Regions from separate parts of the Homo sapiens genome. Here regions 1, 2 and 4 are each linked to region 3. The links are contacts of gene promoters, found by promoter capture Hi-C in human tissues and cell types (Jung and others, 2019). All regions are on one chromosome and are shown on one strand. The core of a region is centred on a gene start or on the middle of the fragment in contact, and the rest is flanking DNA. Distances in the headings are between cores, read along the strand shown. Region 1 overlaps CBR1-AS1 (CBR1 antisense RNA 1). Region 2 overlaps HLCS (holocarboxylase synthetase). Region 3 holds the start of CHAF1B (chromatin assembly factor 1 subunit B). Region 4 overlaps CBR1-AS1 (CBR1 antisense RNA 1).

The links. The method cuts DNA at HindIII sites, captures the fragments that hold promoters and counts their contacts. A contact is called where the count stands out against the background at its distance.
Region 1: a contact is called between a fragment that was not itself captured here and the fragment with the promoter of CHAF1B in region 3, in 1 of the 25 tissues and cell types used here (lymphoblastoid cells).
Region 2: a contact is called between a fragment that was not itself captured here and the fragment with the promoter of CHAF1B in region 3, in 2 of the 25 tissues and cell types used here (dorsolateral prefrontal cortex and lymphoblastoid cells).
Region 4: a contact is called between a fragment that was not itself captured here and the fragment with the promoter of CHAF1B in region 3, in 2 of the 25 tissues and cell types used here (dorsolateral prefrontal cortex and lymphoblastoid cells).

Annotation. Positions count from the first base shown.
Region 1 is chr21:36,083,007-36,085,706 of GRCh38, reverse strand. All of the region lies in intron 2 of CBR1-AS1 (CBR1 antisense RNA 1), which reads left to right. Among named protein-coding and RNA genes, the nearest start is that of CBR1, 14 kb to the right of the region's middle. The HindIII fragment of the contact is 3,563 bases long and covers 1-2,700 here.
Region 2 is chr21:36,874,981-36,877,680 of GRCh38, reverse strand. All of the region lies in intron 6 of HLCS (holocarboxylase synthetase), which reads left to right. Among named protein-coding and RNA genes, the nearest start is that of HLCS-AS1, 90 kb to the left of the region's middle. The HindIII fragment of the contact is 4,203 bases long and covers 1-2,700 here.
Region 3 is chr21:36,383,985-36,386,684 of GRCh38, reverse strand. CHAF1B (chromatin assembly factor 1 subunit B) reads right to left here and starts at 1,293. Exons shown (of 14, transcript NM_005441.3): 1 at 1,234-1,293; 2 at 423-625. The coding sequence starts at 548. RefSeq lists enhancers at 1-340, 341-842 and silencers at 962-1,061, 1,092-1,461. The HindIII fragment of the contact is 18,705 bases long and covers 1-2,700 here.
Region 4 is chr21:36,107,021-36,109,720 of GRCh38, reverse strand. All of the region lies in intron 1 of CBR1-AS1 (CBR1 antisense RNA 1), which reads left to right. LOC105369306 (a long non-coding RNA gene) reads right to left here. Exons shown (of 2, transcript NR_147887.1): 2 at 31-2,123. Among named protein-coding and RNA genes, the nearest start is that of CBR1-AS1, 18 kb to the left of the region's middle. The HindIII fragment of the contact is 4,793 bases long and covers 1-2,700 here.

The sequences.
Region 1 (2,700 bases), core at 60-2,559, 300 kb after region 3:
CAATAACAAGAGGAACTCTGGAAATTACACAAACACATGGAAATTAATACAGGCTGGGCATGGTAGCTCATGCCTGTAATCCCAGCACTTTGGGAGGCCGAGGGGGACAGATTGTCTGAAGTCAGGAGTTCGAGACCAGCCTAGCCAACATGGTGAAACCCCATATCTATTAAAAATACAAAAATTAGCTGGGCGTGGCAGTGGACAAAGGCACTGGCTACTGATTGTAGGATTAGGGATCCTGACGATGAAGAAGCAGGGAAGCCTGAAGAATCCTTGGCAGAGGCCAGCACAGCTGGGACCTGGATTTTAGCTCTAGGTTTTATCCCTAGTCTCTCGTTGGCCCTAGAGAACCTAATTTCTAGGGTTTAAAACTTGAGCCTGGTTGGCATGGAGACCTGGGCTGAGGGAACCCTTGGTGTCTCTGGTATGTGGTGAAGTAGCTGTTAGAGATGGGACCCATGAATGTCAGAATGGTTATCCTTGGATTCTAGTTGGTCTGTGCATTTTTTTCGGGGGGGGTGGGGACTATGGGTACATGCTACCATGTCTGGCTAGTTTTTTTTTTGTTTTTGTCTTTGTTTTTAGAGACGAGGTCTTGCTGTGTTGCCCAGGCTGGTCTTGAACTCCTGGGTTCATACAATCCTTCTGCTTTGGCCTCCCAACAGGGCTAGGATTATAGGTGTGAGCCACACAACACCCAGCCTGGCCTGTGCATCTTGATAGAGCAGCAGCAAATCTGTGCACAGCAAGTTGGTAGTGAGATATCACCTGCTGGGACACTGAAGACTTCTTGCTCAAGCTGAAGCCAGCAGCTGATGAGCTCTGAGTGTGAGTGCTTGATGTTTTCCATCTGAACAGGGAGCAATCTGCCCTTGGCATGGAGTTTCTTGTGAGGGACAACTGCTTGGGAGACTGAGATCTCCCAAAAGCTGGTCTTGATGGCACTGATCTCAAGTGACCCTAAGTATTCAAATCACCTACACAAATTCTGCTATTGAGTAAGTTTGAAGCCCTTGCATACAACTGCTCCTGATTCTGAGGATACAATTACTCCATCCCAGCTGCAATGCTATAACCATAGTGCGTTTTGGATTAAAATGGCAACAGGCTGGATCAAGACTTTTTGGGAGGCCTGGAACTTTGTTCTGAAGCTTCAGTTCATATTGGCCAAAGAGGATTAGGAGTTCTATAATTTTCTTTGTCAGATTTTCCACACCTTGTCATGAGTGGGAGTCCCCACCATTAGGTGGCCTTCATAAGCTGGGTTCAGAAAGTTGTTCTCCAAAATTAGCAACCTGAATCTTGTAGGATATACATTTTTGTAGGCTTGTGGACTGCCTCCTGGATTTGTGCCTTCTGTTTGAATCTTCAGATCTTCCCCCTGTACAGAATAGCATCCCCATACTTGGCTTCCTTCTCCATCTTGAAAACAGAGGTTAATGCATCCATTCCAAGAACTCAAGAATTCTCACTGCATTGTGAGAGTCCCAGAAGCTGTCTTTTCTTTTTTTTTTTTTTTTGAGACGGAGTCTTACTCTGTCACCCAGGTAGTGCATTGGTATGATTTCAGCTCACTGCAACCTCCCCTTCCCGGGTTCAAGTGATTCTCCTGCCTCAGCCTCCTGAGTAGCTGGGATTACAGGCATGCACCACTGTGCCTGGCTGATTTTATTTTATTTATTTATTTTTTGAGACGCAGTCTCACTCTATCGCCCAGGCTAGAGCGCAGTGGTGTCATCCTGGCTCACTGCAACTTCCACCTCCCGGGTTCAAGCGATTCTCCTACCTCAGCCTCCCAAGTAGCTGGAATTATAGGCGTGAGCCACTGCACCCGGCCTAATTTTTGTATTTTTAGTAGAGACAGGGTTTCACCATGTTGGTCAGGATGGTCTCGAACTCCTGATCTCAAGTGACTCACCTGCCTCGGCCTCCCAAAGTACTGGGATTACAGGCGTGAGCCACCATGCCCGCCTCTAGAAGCTGTCTTCTTTTGTGTCTTTCACAATTGTCCAAAGACCAGCCCTGCCAGGGGCCTGTTTGTGTTTCTTGTGGTTGCAGTCCTTTAAGGCCTCTAGCATGAAGTGGAGGCACAGGAGGGACGGCGGGGCTCTAGTTCTCCTGAGCTCAGACATGGGGTTGGGGTGAGGACCAGCACCAGCAGCACTAATGATGTGAGCAGCGATGACGCTTCCAGGCCCCACACCTGTGACCTTGCTACCTCTGGTGCTTCTCCCTGATGTGTTCTTCCTTGACCACCCCCACCAAGCCCTCACCTAGTGAGAAAGCAGGTGATATCACATGGCATAGAGAGATGGGAGTAGTGACTTGAAGAGCTACTCTTTGAGGTTATGTTTTTTGCAAACGTGTGTGTGTGTTTTTGTTTTTTTGTTTGTTTGTGTTTTGCAACACAGTTTCACTCTGTTGCCCAGGCTAGAGTGTAGCAGTGTGATCTCGGCTCACTGCAATCTCCGCCTCCCAGGTTCAAGCAATTCTCATGCCTCAGCCTCCCAAGTAGCTGGGATTACAGGTGTGCCACCAGGCTCCGCTAAGTTTTTGTATTTTTAGTAGAGACAAGATTTTGCCATGTTCGCCAGACTGGTCTTGAACTCCTGACCTCAGGTGATCTACCTGCCTCGGCCTCCCAAAGTGCTGGGATTACAGGCGTGAACCACGGTGCCTGGCCCCAGCAAATGTTAT
Region 2 (2,700 bases), core at 101-2,600, 490 kb before region 3:
TCTCTGGACAAATATCTGGGTAAATTTAAAATACTCCCCCAACACACATATATCTACCTAAAGCAAAATTGTAGCATCATCTTACATAGTCTTACATTCATTGGTAGAATACATATGACAACTCTAGCAAAAAGGAACAACAAAGGGGTGGTAAATGGACCTATAAGATTGTAACATTTCTGCATTTGATCTGACATGGTACAATATTAATGCTAAGTTGATATAAAAGGTAAGGATGTACATTGTAATCCCTAGGATAACCACTAAACACATAAGGCAAAAGATACAGTTCAAAAGCCAATAGATAAAATGCCATTCTAAAAAAAAAATCTAAAAGAAGTCAGGAAAAGAGGACTAGAAACACACACAAAAAAAAGAGAGAAAAAAATAAAAATTAACCAAATGGTTTAACTCAATTCAACCTTATCAATATTTACATTAAATGATAATAGACTAAGCCCTGTTATTAAAAGGCAGAAAATGTTAGAATGGATTTTTTAAAAAGCAAGACCTGAGTATATGTTCTCTTCAAGACACACTTCAATTATAAAGACACAGGTTAGAAGTAAAAGGATAGGAAATTATATACCACATTAACAGCCTAAGGAGGTTGGAGTGACTTTTTAAGCAGCAGACAAAATTCACTTTAAGACAAAGAAGTACAAAAGATGGGGAGGGATATTTCACAGTGACAATAGGGGTAATTCATAGAGAACAGATAACAACTCATGGATGTGTATTTACCTAATAACAGAGCTTTAAAGTATATGATGCAAAAATGGACAGAATAAAAGAAATAGAGAAGTCCACCGTCATAGTTGGAGATTTCAGCAATGCTCTCTTAGCCCATGATGGAACAGCTAACCAAAAATCATGAAAAACATAGATAATCTGGATAACACTCTCAACCACTTTCACCTTCCTGATACCTAATACTTCCAGAACACTATACCTTGCCAAACTCACCTTGTTTCAAGTGTGCTTGGTATGTTCACCAAGGTAGACTATGTGCTGGGTCATAAAACAAGTCTCCAAAAGCCTAAAGTGATTGAAATCACAGAGTATATTCCCTGTCCACCATGGAATTAAATTAGAAATCAATAACAAAAATGGATCTAGGAAACCCACAAGTATTTAGAAAGTAAACAGCACACATCTAAATAGTCCATTGGTCAAGCAAGAAATCACAAGGGAAAGTACGAACTGTTTTGAAACTGCATAAGACCTACGTAGAGAAACCATGATCATGGTTTGGAAGAGTTAGTACTGGTAAAATGCCAGTTTGCTGTAAGTTGATGTACGAATTTGGTACAAGCTCAATCAAAATCACGGCAGGTATTTTTGTGGAAATGTATACGAAAATGTCACAGGATCCTTAGAGTATTGCTTTTCCAGCCAGAAACCTCTGTGGCTGGTGGTACCTTTGCCTGAGTTTTGTTCGGGCCTGCTGGGCTCATTCAGCCCTGGCAGGCTGCACTTGGCTCGCACTCTCAGCCTGGATCCCATGCCTGCCACGGGTGAGCCAGGCGCACACTGGCGAGGGGTTGTGAACGAGCAAGCTTGGGGTCTGGCCACTGTGCACAGGCAGGCCAGTGCACAGTGGCTGCTGCGGTGGGGCAGGCAGCTCCATGCCCTGGCACGGGTGCTGCCTCCGTGCAAGGCTGAGGCTAGATCAGATGTACCACAAGTGGCTTCTGCTGCAGGCACCAGCACCTAGACAAGGGGAATGTGGTGGCATCCAGAAACTTGGAGACACCAGGAACTGCAGAGCCCCAAAGAGGGTGTCACAGCCCTGGCTTGGGGAGCCCCTAGGTCTGGCTCCCCGAAGAGCTGCCTCTCTTCTCTCCTCATCACCTGCAACATGGCGAGCAGGGGGACGTTGCCCCTGTTTGTGTTACAGCTCTCTTAGTTCCACCATTGGGCAGGTCCCAAGTTCTTGTCCTGCATCCAGGAAGAAGGAGGTATGTGGACAATTGGAGGGCGAGCAAGGCAGAGAGAAGCTTCATTGAGTGGCAGAACAGCTCTCAGGAGACTTGAAGTGGGTAGCTCCTTCCTGCAGGCAGATCGTCCCGATGAGTGTCCAGCTCTTAGTGGACAGGAGACCTGTAGTGTGTAGCTCCTTTCCGCAGACATGTTATCCCAACATCTGTCTGGCTCTCAGCGAAGAGGAGACCCATGGTGGGTAGCTCCTTTCTGCAGACAGGTTGTCCCGACATGTGTCCAGCTCTCAGCGGGGTCTTCCAGAGGAGAGTGTGAGTGGCTGAATCTGGGGTTTTTATGTTGTCACAATGGAGGAAGTGTGTGCTGACTGGTCCTTGGGTGTCCCTGGCTGGTCCTGGAAAAAGCACCATCCGAATGGCCAAACAGTTGTCAATGAAATTCTCACTCCAGGCCGTGGACCTCACCTGGAACTGGCAGCCTGGAGCCCAGGCTTCAGGCTTGAAGGTGTGGTTTCACCAGGAACTGGCTTCTTCCTGCTTAGGAGCCTGTCTGCCTCCCGCTGCCATCAACATGCTGTCCGTGGTGCCCAGCTGTCTATGCTGAGGGGCACCCACAGGCCTGTACAAAGTCACGCTTAGTCCTCTGGTCTCCCTCCTGCGTTCATTGGTGACCAAAGTCTAGAGGGGGCTGAAGCACCAGTCGGGGAGGGGAGTGCTGGCTACTCTGCATATGTGCACACCTGGCTGGGTCATGACAGCA
Region 3 (2,700 bases), core at 44-2,543:
GCAGGCCCTGGAAATTTAGCATTCTGGGCTAGATGACAAAGTAGTTTAGTTTGTTGACATACGTTAATTCATTCATTCATTTACTTAAGAGAAGGGTCTGGCTCTGTCACCCAGGCTGGAGTGCAGTGGAGTGATCGTTGCTTGCTTCAAACTCCTAGGCTCAAGCGATCCTCTCACTTCAACTTCCCAAGTAGCTGGGCCTACAGCTGCACACTGCCACGTCCCGCTACTTTTTCATGTCTGGCTGTTGCCCAGGCTGGTGTCGAACTCCTGGACTCAAGCGATCCTCTCACCTCAGCCTCCCAAAGCACTGGGATTACAGGCGTAAGCCACCGCGCCCAGCCGACACTGGTTTTAAGTAAAAGAATGAAAACTATTGCTTCAAGCAGTGTTCCCGGATGTCTATCTCTGCCCCAGTTTACCCTGACATTGGTGTCCACGCCGGCAGACGCCAGTCTGTGGATCCTCCCAGCCGTCCCATGCTGGAAGTCCAGGCTGTACACGGGCTCCTTGTTGTGCCAGGCTATTTCACAAGTGATGACTTTCATCCTCCTGAGTCTCGAAGGGGAAAAACGTTTCTCGGGCACCGTTCTACTTCTTCAAGACAGGAGAAAGCTGCAAAATGCTGGTGATGGATTAAACAACAGTGTTAACAGCAGCAAAGGGTTATTGAGCGCTGAATAGGGGCCAGGAGCCATTTAAAATGCACACTGCATTGGGAAAGGATGTTAACGTTGCCATCTGACAATAACACCTTGCTAGCTCCACCTAAAATGCTTCGCTGGGTCCTGACATCCACAAGTTTATGATACGCCGCTACATCCAGAAAAGCAAAACGAAACACCCAGGTAAAGGCTACCTAGGGGCCCCGGCCGTCTGCACGGCCTGTCCCCGCTTAGTAGGGGCTAGGGGCGCGCCCTGAGAGCCCGGGGAGGGGCCCGCCCCGGGAGGAGCCTCCCGGAAGAGGGGGCCAAACGGGGTAGGGGACCGGGGCGGCGGGGCGAGAGGAGAACCCCGCCTTTCCCAGGGACCGGGCGCTGGGCCCGGGAAGCTGGGACTGAGGCCGCCGGGAGGAGGCCGCGCGGGGCCGGGGGTGGACGGGGCCCCGCCGCCCCAACGCGCGCCGCTCCGGAGCTATCCCGGGGCCCAGGGGCCCGCCCTCGGCGAGGGCCTCTGGCCCGGACCGACGCGACCAAAAGAGCCGCGGAGCTGCCCGGGCCAGGGAAGCCGTACCTGGAGGGACCCGGACAGTCAGAGGCACCGTCACCTCCCGCGCAGCGCGCGCCGCTTCCCGCGCGCCGCAGGCCCCGCCCCCGCATGGGCGGGACCTCATAGACGCCCCGCCCCTCCAGCGGCCCTCAGGTCCCGCCCGACGTGGGCGGTACCCCAGGGAAGCCCCGCCCACTCATAGACGCCAAGGCGAGTCCTGCTCTGGCCCTGGGGTCGGAATCCCGGCCGGAATTTATGCCTGCCAGACCCACGACCGAAGGAAGAATGGATTCATTATTATTTATTATTATTATCCATTACTTATTCCTTGTTGATTCGCTCTTTTAGCAAAGGTTTACAGAGCCTGGGCTGTGTGTTAGACAGACCCTATGCTGGCGCTGGGCACTTGGAGGGCTAACACAACCGGTTCTCTTGCCCCTTCTGCAAACAAAAACTGAGATTTTTGGGTTTTCTGTATTGGCTTCTAGAACATTTTGGAGAGTTCAAAGCTATGAAATTGTTCAGTACCTAGCGCAAGGTTGCTTACATTTTATTATTATAGTAGATGCAGTTATAAACCCTTTTTAAGAACAGACTAACATTTTAAAGTGAGGCTGTAAATCAGTCGGTAGGCAGAGATAGATACCTCAGGCTTTTCGAAATGGGACGTTTCCAAATGAGACCTAATTTATCTGTGGGCTTCGCAGAAGGCCAGGAAACAAGTACCTCTGGATGCGCTGCTTTTACTGGATAAAAGAAACACACAGGGTTATCTGAGGAGCCAACTGCTCTAGGATTTTTGGAAAAAAAGAACAGACATGGATTCTTATATAAATACCGGCTGATGCTTTTAGCCAGCTTTATGAAAGGTACAGAAATTGCCTACAAATCCGTGTCTCATGTTGATGAGAATGGCTGTATGCTCCTTGAAGCCTGATTTCTACAGGAAGCTAGAATAACATAATCCGGATATGCAGTTTTTAGATTTTTCTCTTCAGGATTTACAGAGCTTGGACTGGGAATGACTATATACTTTAGATAATATGGCTGTTCTAAAAGTACAGATTCCTGGCCCTACTCAGCCCCATGATTCCGAATATCCAGCAGAGGCCCGTGCTCCAGGGGCTTGCATTTTCATAAACTCCCCGGTGGGTGTGATCATCAGTCTGTTTTGGAAAGCTCTGGATTCTTCGTGTCTCTCAAACATAAAATTTCTCCAAATTTCTCATAAATGCTGTTCATTCACAAATGAATAATCTGCCCACCTCTTGAAGTGTCACGACTCTGAACTGTGGATTTAAAAGATAAAAACACATGCTTTAAGTATTAAAAGTACATGAAGGAGTTGGCTTTCTTGGCGAACATTTTAGAGATCCGACTTCAGTGCCAACTTGATGAGCCAACACGGGCAGGGGATGCGGCTCTAGAGAGAGGCCCTGGGCTGTCAAATATTTTCTCAAAAAAAAAAAAAAAAGTATTTGTTCAAAACCT
Region 4 (2,700 bases), core at 160-2,659, 280 kb after region 3:
ACGCAGACAAAACTCCTCAGACACTGGATTAAAGAAGGAAGAGGTTTACTTGGCTGAGAGCATCGGCAGACTTGCATCTTAAGAGCTGAGCTCCCTGCAAACTGAATTCTTGGCCTTTTTAAAGGCTTACAACTCTAAAGGGGTCCACATGAAAAGGTCGTGATAAATCCAGCAAGCGTGGGGAACGTGACTGGAGGCTACATGCATCAGCTAACAGAACAGAAAGTTTTGCAATGCTTTTTCATACAATGTCTGGAATTTACAGATAACACAAGTAGTTTAGGTCTGGGGTTGATGTTATTATTATTACCTTTTTAACTCCTAGGGCCAGGTGGTGGTGCCAAGGTTGTCTGGCTATTTATCTTACTTTTGCTTCTTTCCAGCTTTTTGCTTTCTCTCTTTCCTCCTGTCTTGTGAACTAGGCAAGGTGGTGGGAGGAGGGCAGCAGGAGTTGTAGCGGTCTCCTTCCTTAGTGTGACACAACACCCGACAAGAATAAGCACACCTATGATGGCTGCGATGGAAGTAAGAATTGGGGCTACTATTCTTTTCCATTTACTGAACCACTTTTCCAGCCATCCTGTAAAGGGGTCATTTACCCCCGAGTTATTGGCTAACTCAGGATAGAGCAGTCAGACCTTGCAATGCCTTTGTTATACTTCCATTAGGGGCGGTGTTGTTTGGGATGAAGTTACAACATTGATTTTTAATTATGATGCAAATTCTTCCTTTTTCTGCTAATATCATGTCTAAGGCTATCCTATTTTTCCCAAGCCATCTGGCTAGTAGCCCCTAATTGCTCAGCTATTCCTTTAACAGCATCTCTAGTGTAGTTAATGGATGGCTGTTGGTTGTAATAGATGTAGTTTATCCAATTTACATTTTATTGTCACCCACCAAAATATTGACTCAAATCCTGCAGCTATTTGATTTCAGGCTTTAAATTGATCTGGTATTCCCTGTGGGACTGTAATTATGTCTAAATAGATGTGAGAGTCAAAAGACCCATAAGGGGCTTCTTTTGCTTTATGATATCTTATTTTTCCTTTCTCTGGTTGATGAAATGCCAGCGTGAAAGGGATAGCCAACTGGACTAAAGCAAGTGCCACTTCAGTTACTCGGCAGAGTGTCCAGTAAAGGTCCATCATAATACCACTACACATCTGCTCAGGGATGAGTAAGGGCTAATTGGTAAGCTCTTGAAATTTCTTAATCTCACTGCATCCCTTCAGGACTCCAAGGAACGCTAAGTTTCCTCCCGGTCCTGAGAGACACGAAGTGAACTTAGTGTTGGGAGATGGAAGCTGGATGGCCCTTGGGGGCTGACCCGCAGGGTGTTGAACTTCGGGATGTAGCAGAGAGAGAGCTTGGCACGACTTGTTACCCCAGGCTGAATAATCCTGGGAAAGATCTGCCATGCAGGCCATGCCCAGTCAACTAGAGGGCCACCCTAGTGGAAAGGGGACAATCTGGGCTTCTGGCCTGTCATGTGCACAAGCATAAAAATTGCCTTTGTTTAACGTGTGGACAGAATATTTAATCAATTTTAACCAGGCATTTACATTTTTATACCCTGTTTTAATGGCTATGGTTTGCCTTAGGTCTCCTATTTCTACTACCGGGACCTTGCTTTTGTCATTTGGCATGAGGTGAGTCATAGTTTGATTTTGTAGGTTTGGGAAAGGGGCAGCCATAGGAGGTGGAGGAGGGAGAACAAAGCCCACCTTAAAGAAGCCCATAGGATCCTTTCCAGTGACCTCTGCTCCTAAACCACAGAAGCGTTCTAAAGTGGGGTTAGAGTTGCTAGTGGTAGGAATAGTAATGGATATAAGCACTGGGTAAGGAAGGGAAAGGAAAAGATAGATAGACTAAGCTTTCCTTAGCTTTAATTTGGTAGGGCTTGATCCAGGAACAATGGCCCATGATTCTGAGGATAATGGTGCTTGCTTGACTCATGTGTGATGTGTCCATCTCTTTCCAACCTTACGAACAGCAGTCTCAGTGGTTAGCAGCACAAGGTAGGGTCCTTCCCGGGCTGGCTCGAGTTTCCCTTCTTTCCCCTCTTTGATGAGAACGTGATCCCCAGGCTGATGCTGAGGCACTGGAAAGTCCAAAGGCAGCACCTGTGCTAAAAGACCTCTGTTTTAAGGGAAGAGAAGGTGGAGGATAAACCGAGTATATAATTTCTAAGAAATTGATCTTTTGTTTTAAACGTGGGGATATCAACAGTGGACTTTATAGTCCTTCATGCTTTCTTGTTGAGAAATTTTCTTTGGCACCTATTTTTATTAGTTTTTAGACCAAAGAAGGCCAAACACCATTTTGTATTTGACAATGCTTCCTGTATGATTTTTATACCAGATAAGCTAAATTTCATCTTTATATTAGTGTGTTATTAATGTTAAACTTAATTTTAGTAAAACCTTGTAGACATATTTATCCAATTTTTAATGTCTGATCATAATGTAAGATTTTTACAGACTCTTTTTAACCTTTTTATAATTTTTGTTAAAGAGCAGGTTAGTGCTTTAAGAAAAACCTGTTGTGCTTTTATTTTAATGTCCAGTTCACAGAAAAACTGGATGATACCCCTTTAACTTCAGCCAGTATGATTACACACAGAATTTCCTTTACAATTAACATTTCAAAACTTGCTTAAACCTTTAAAACAAAATGTATTTTTTTAACCTTTTAATGTAG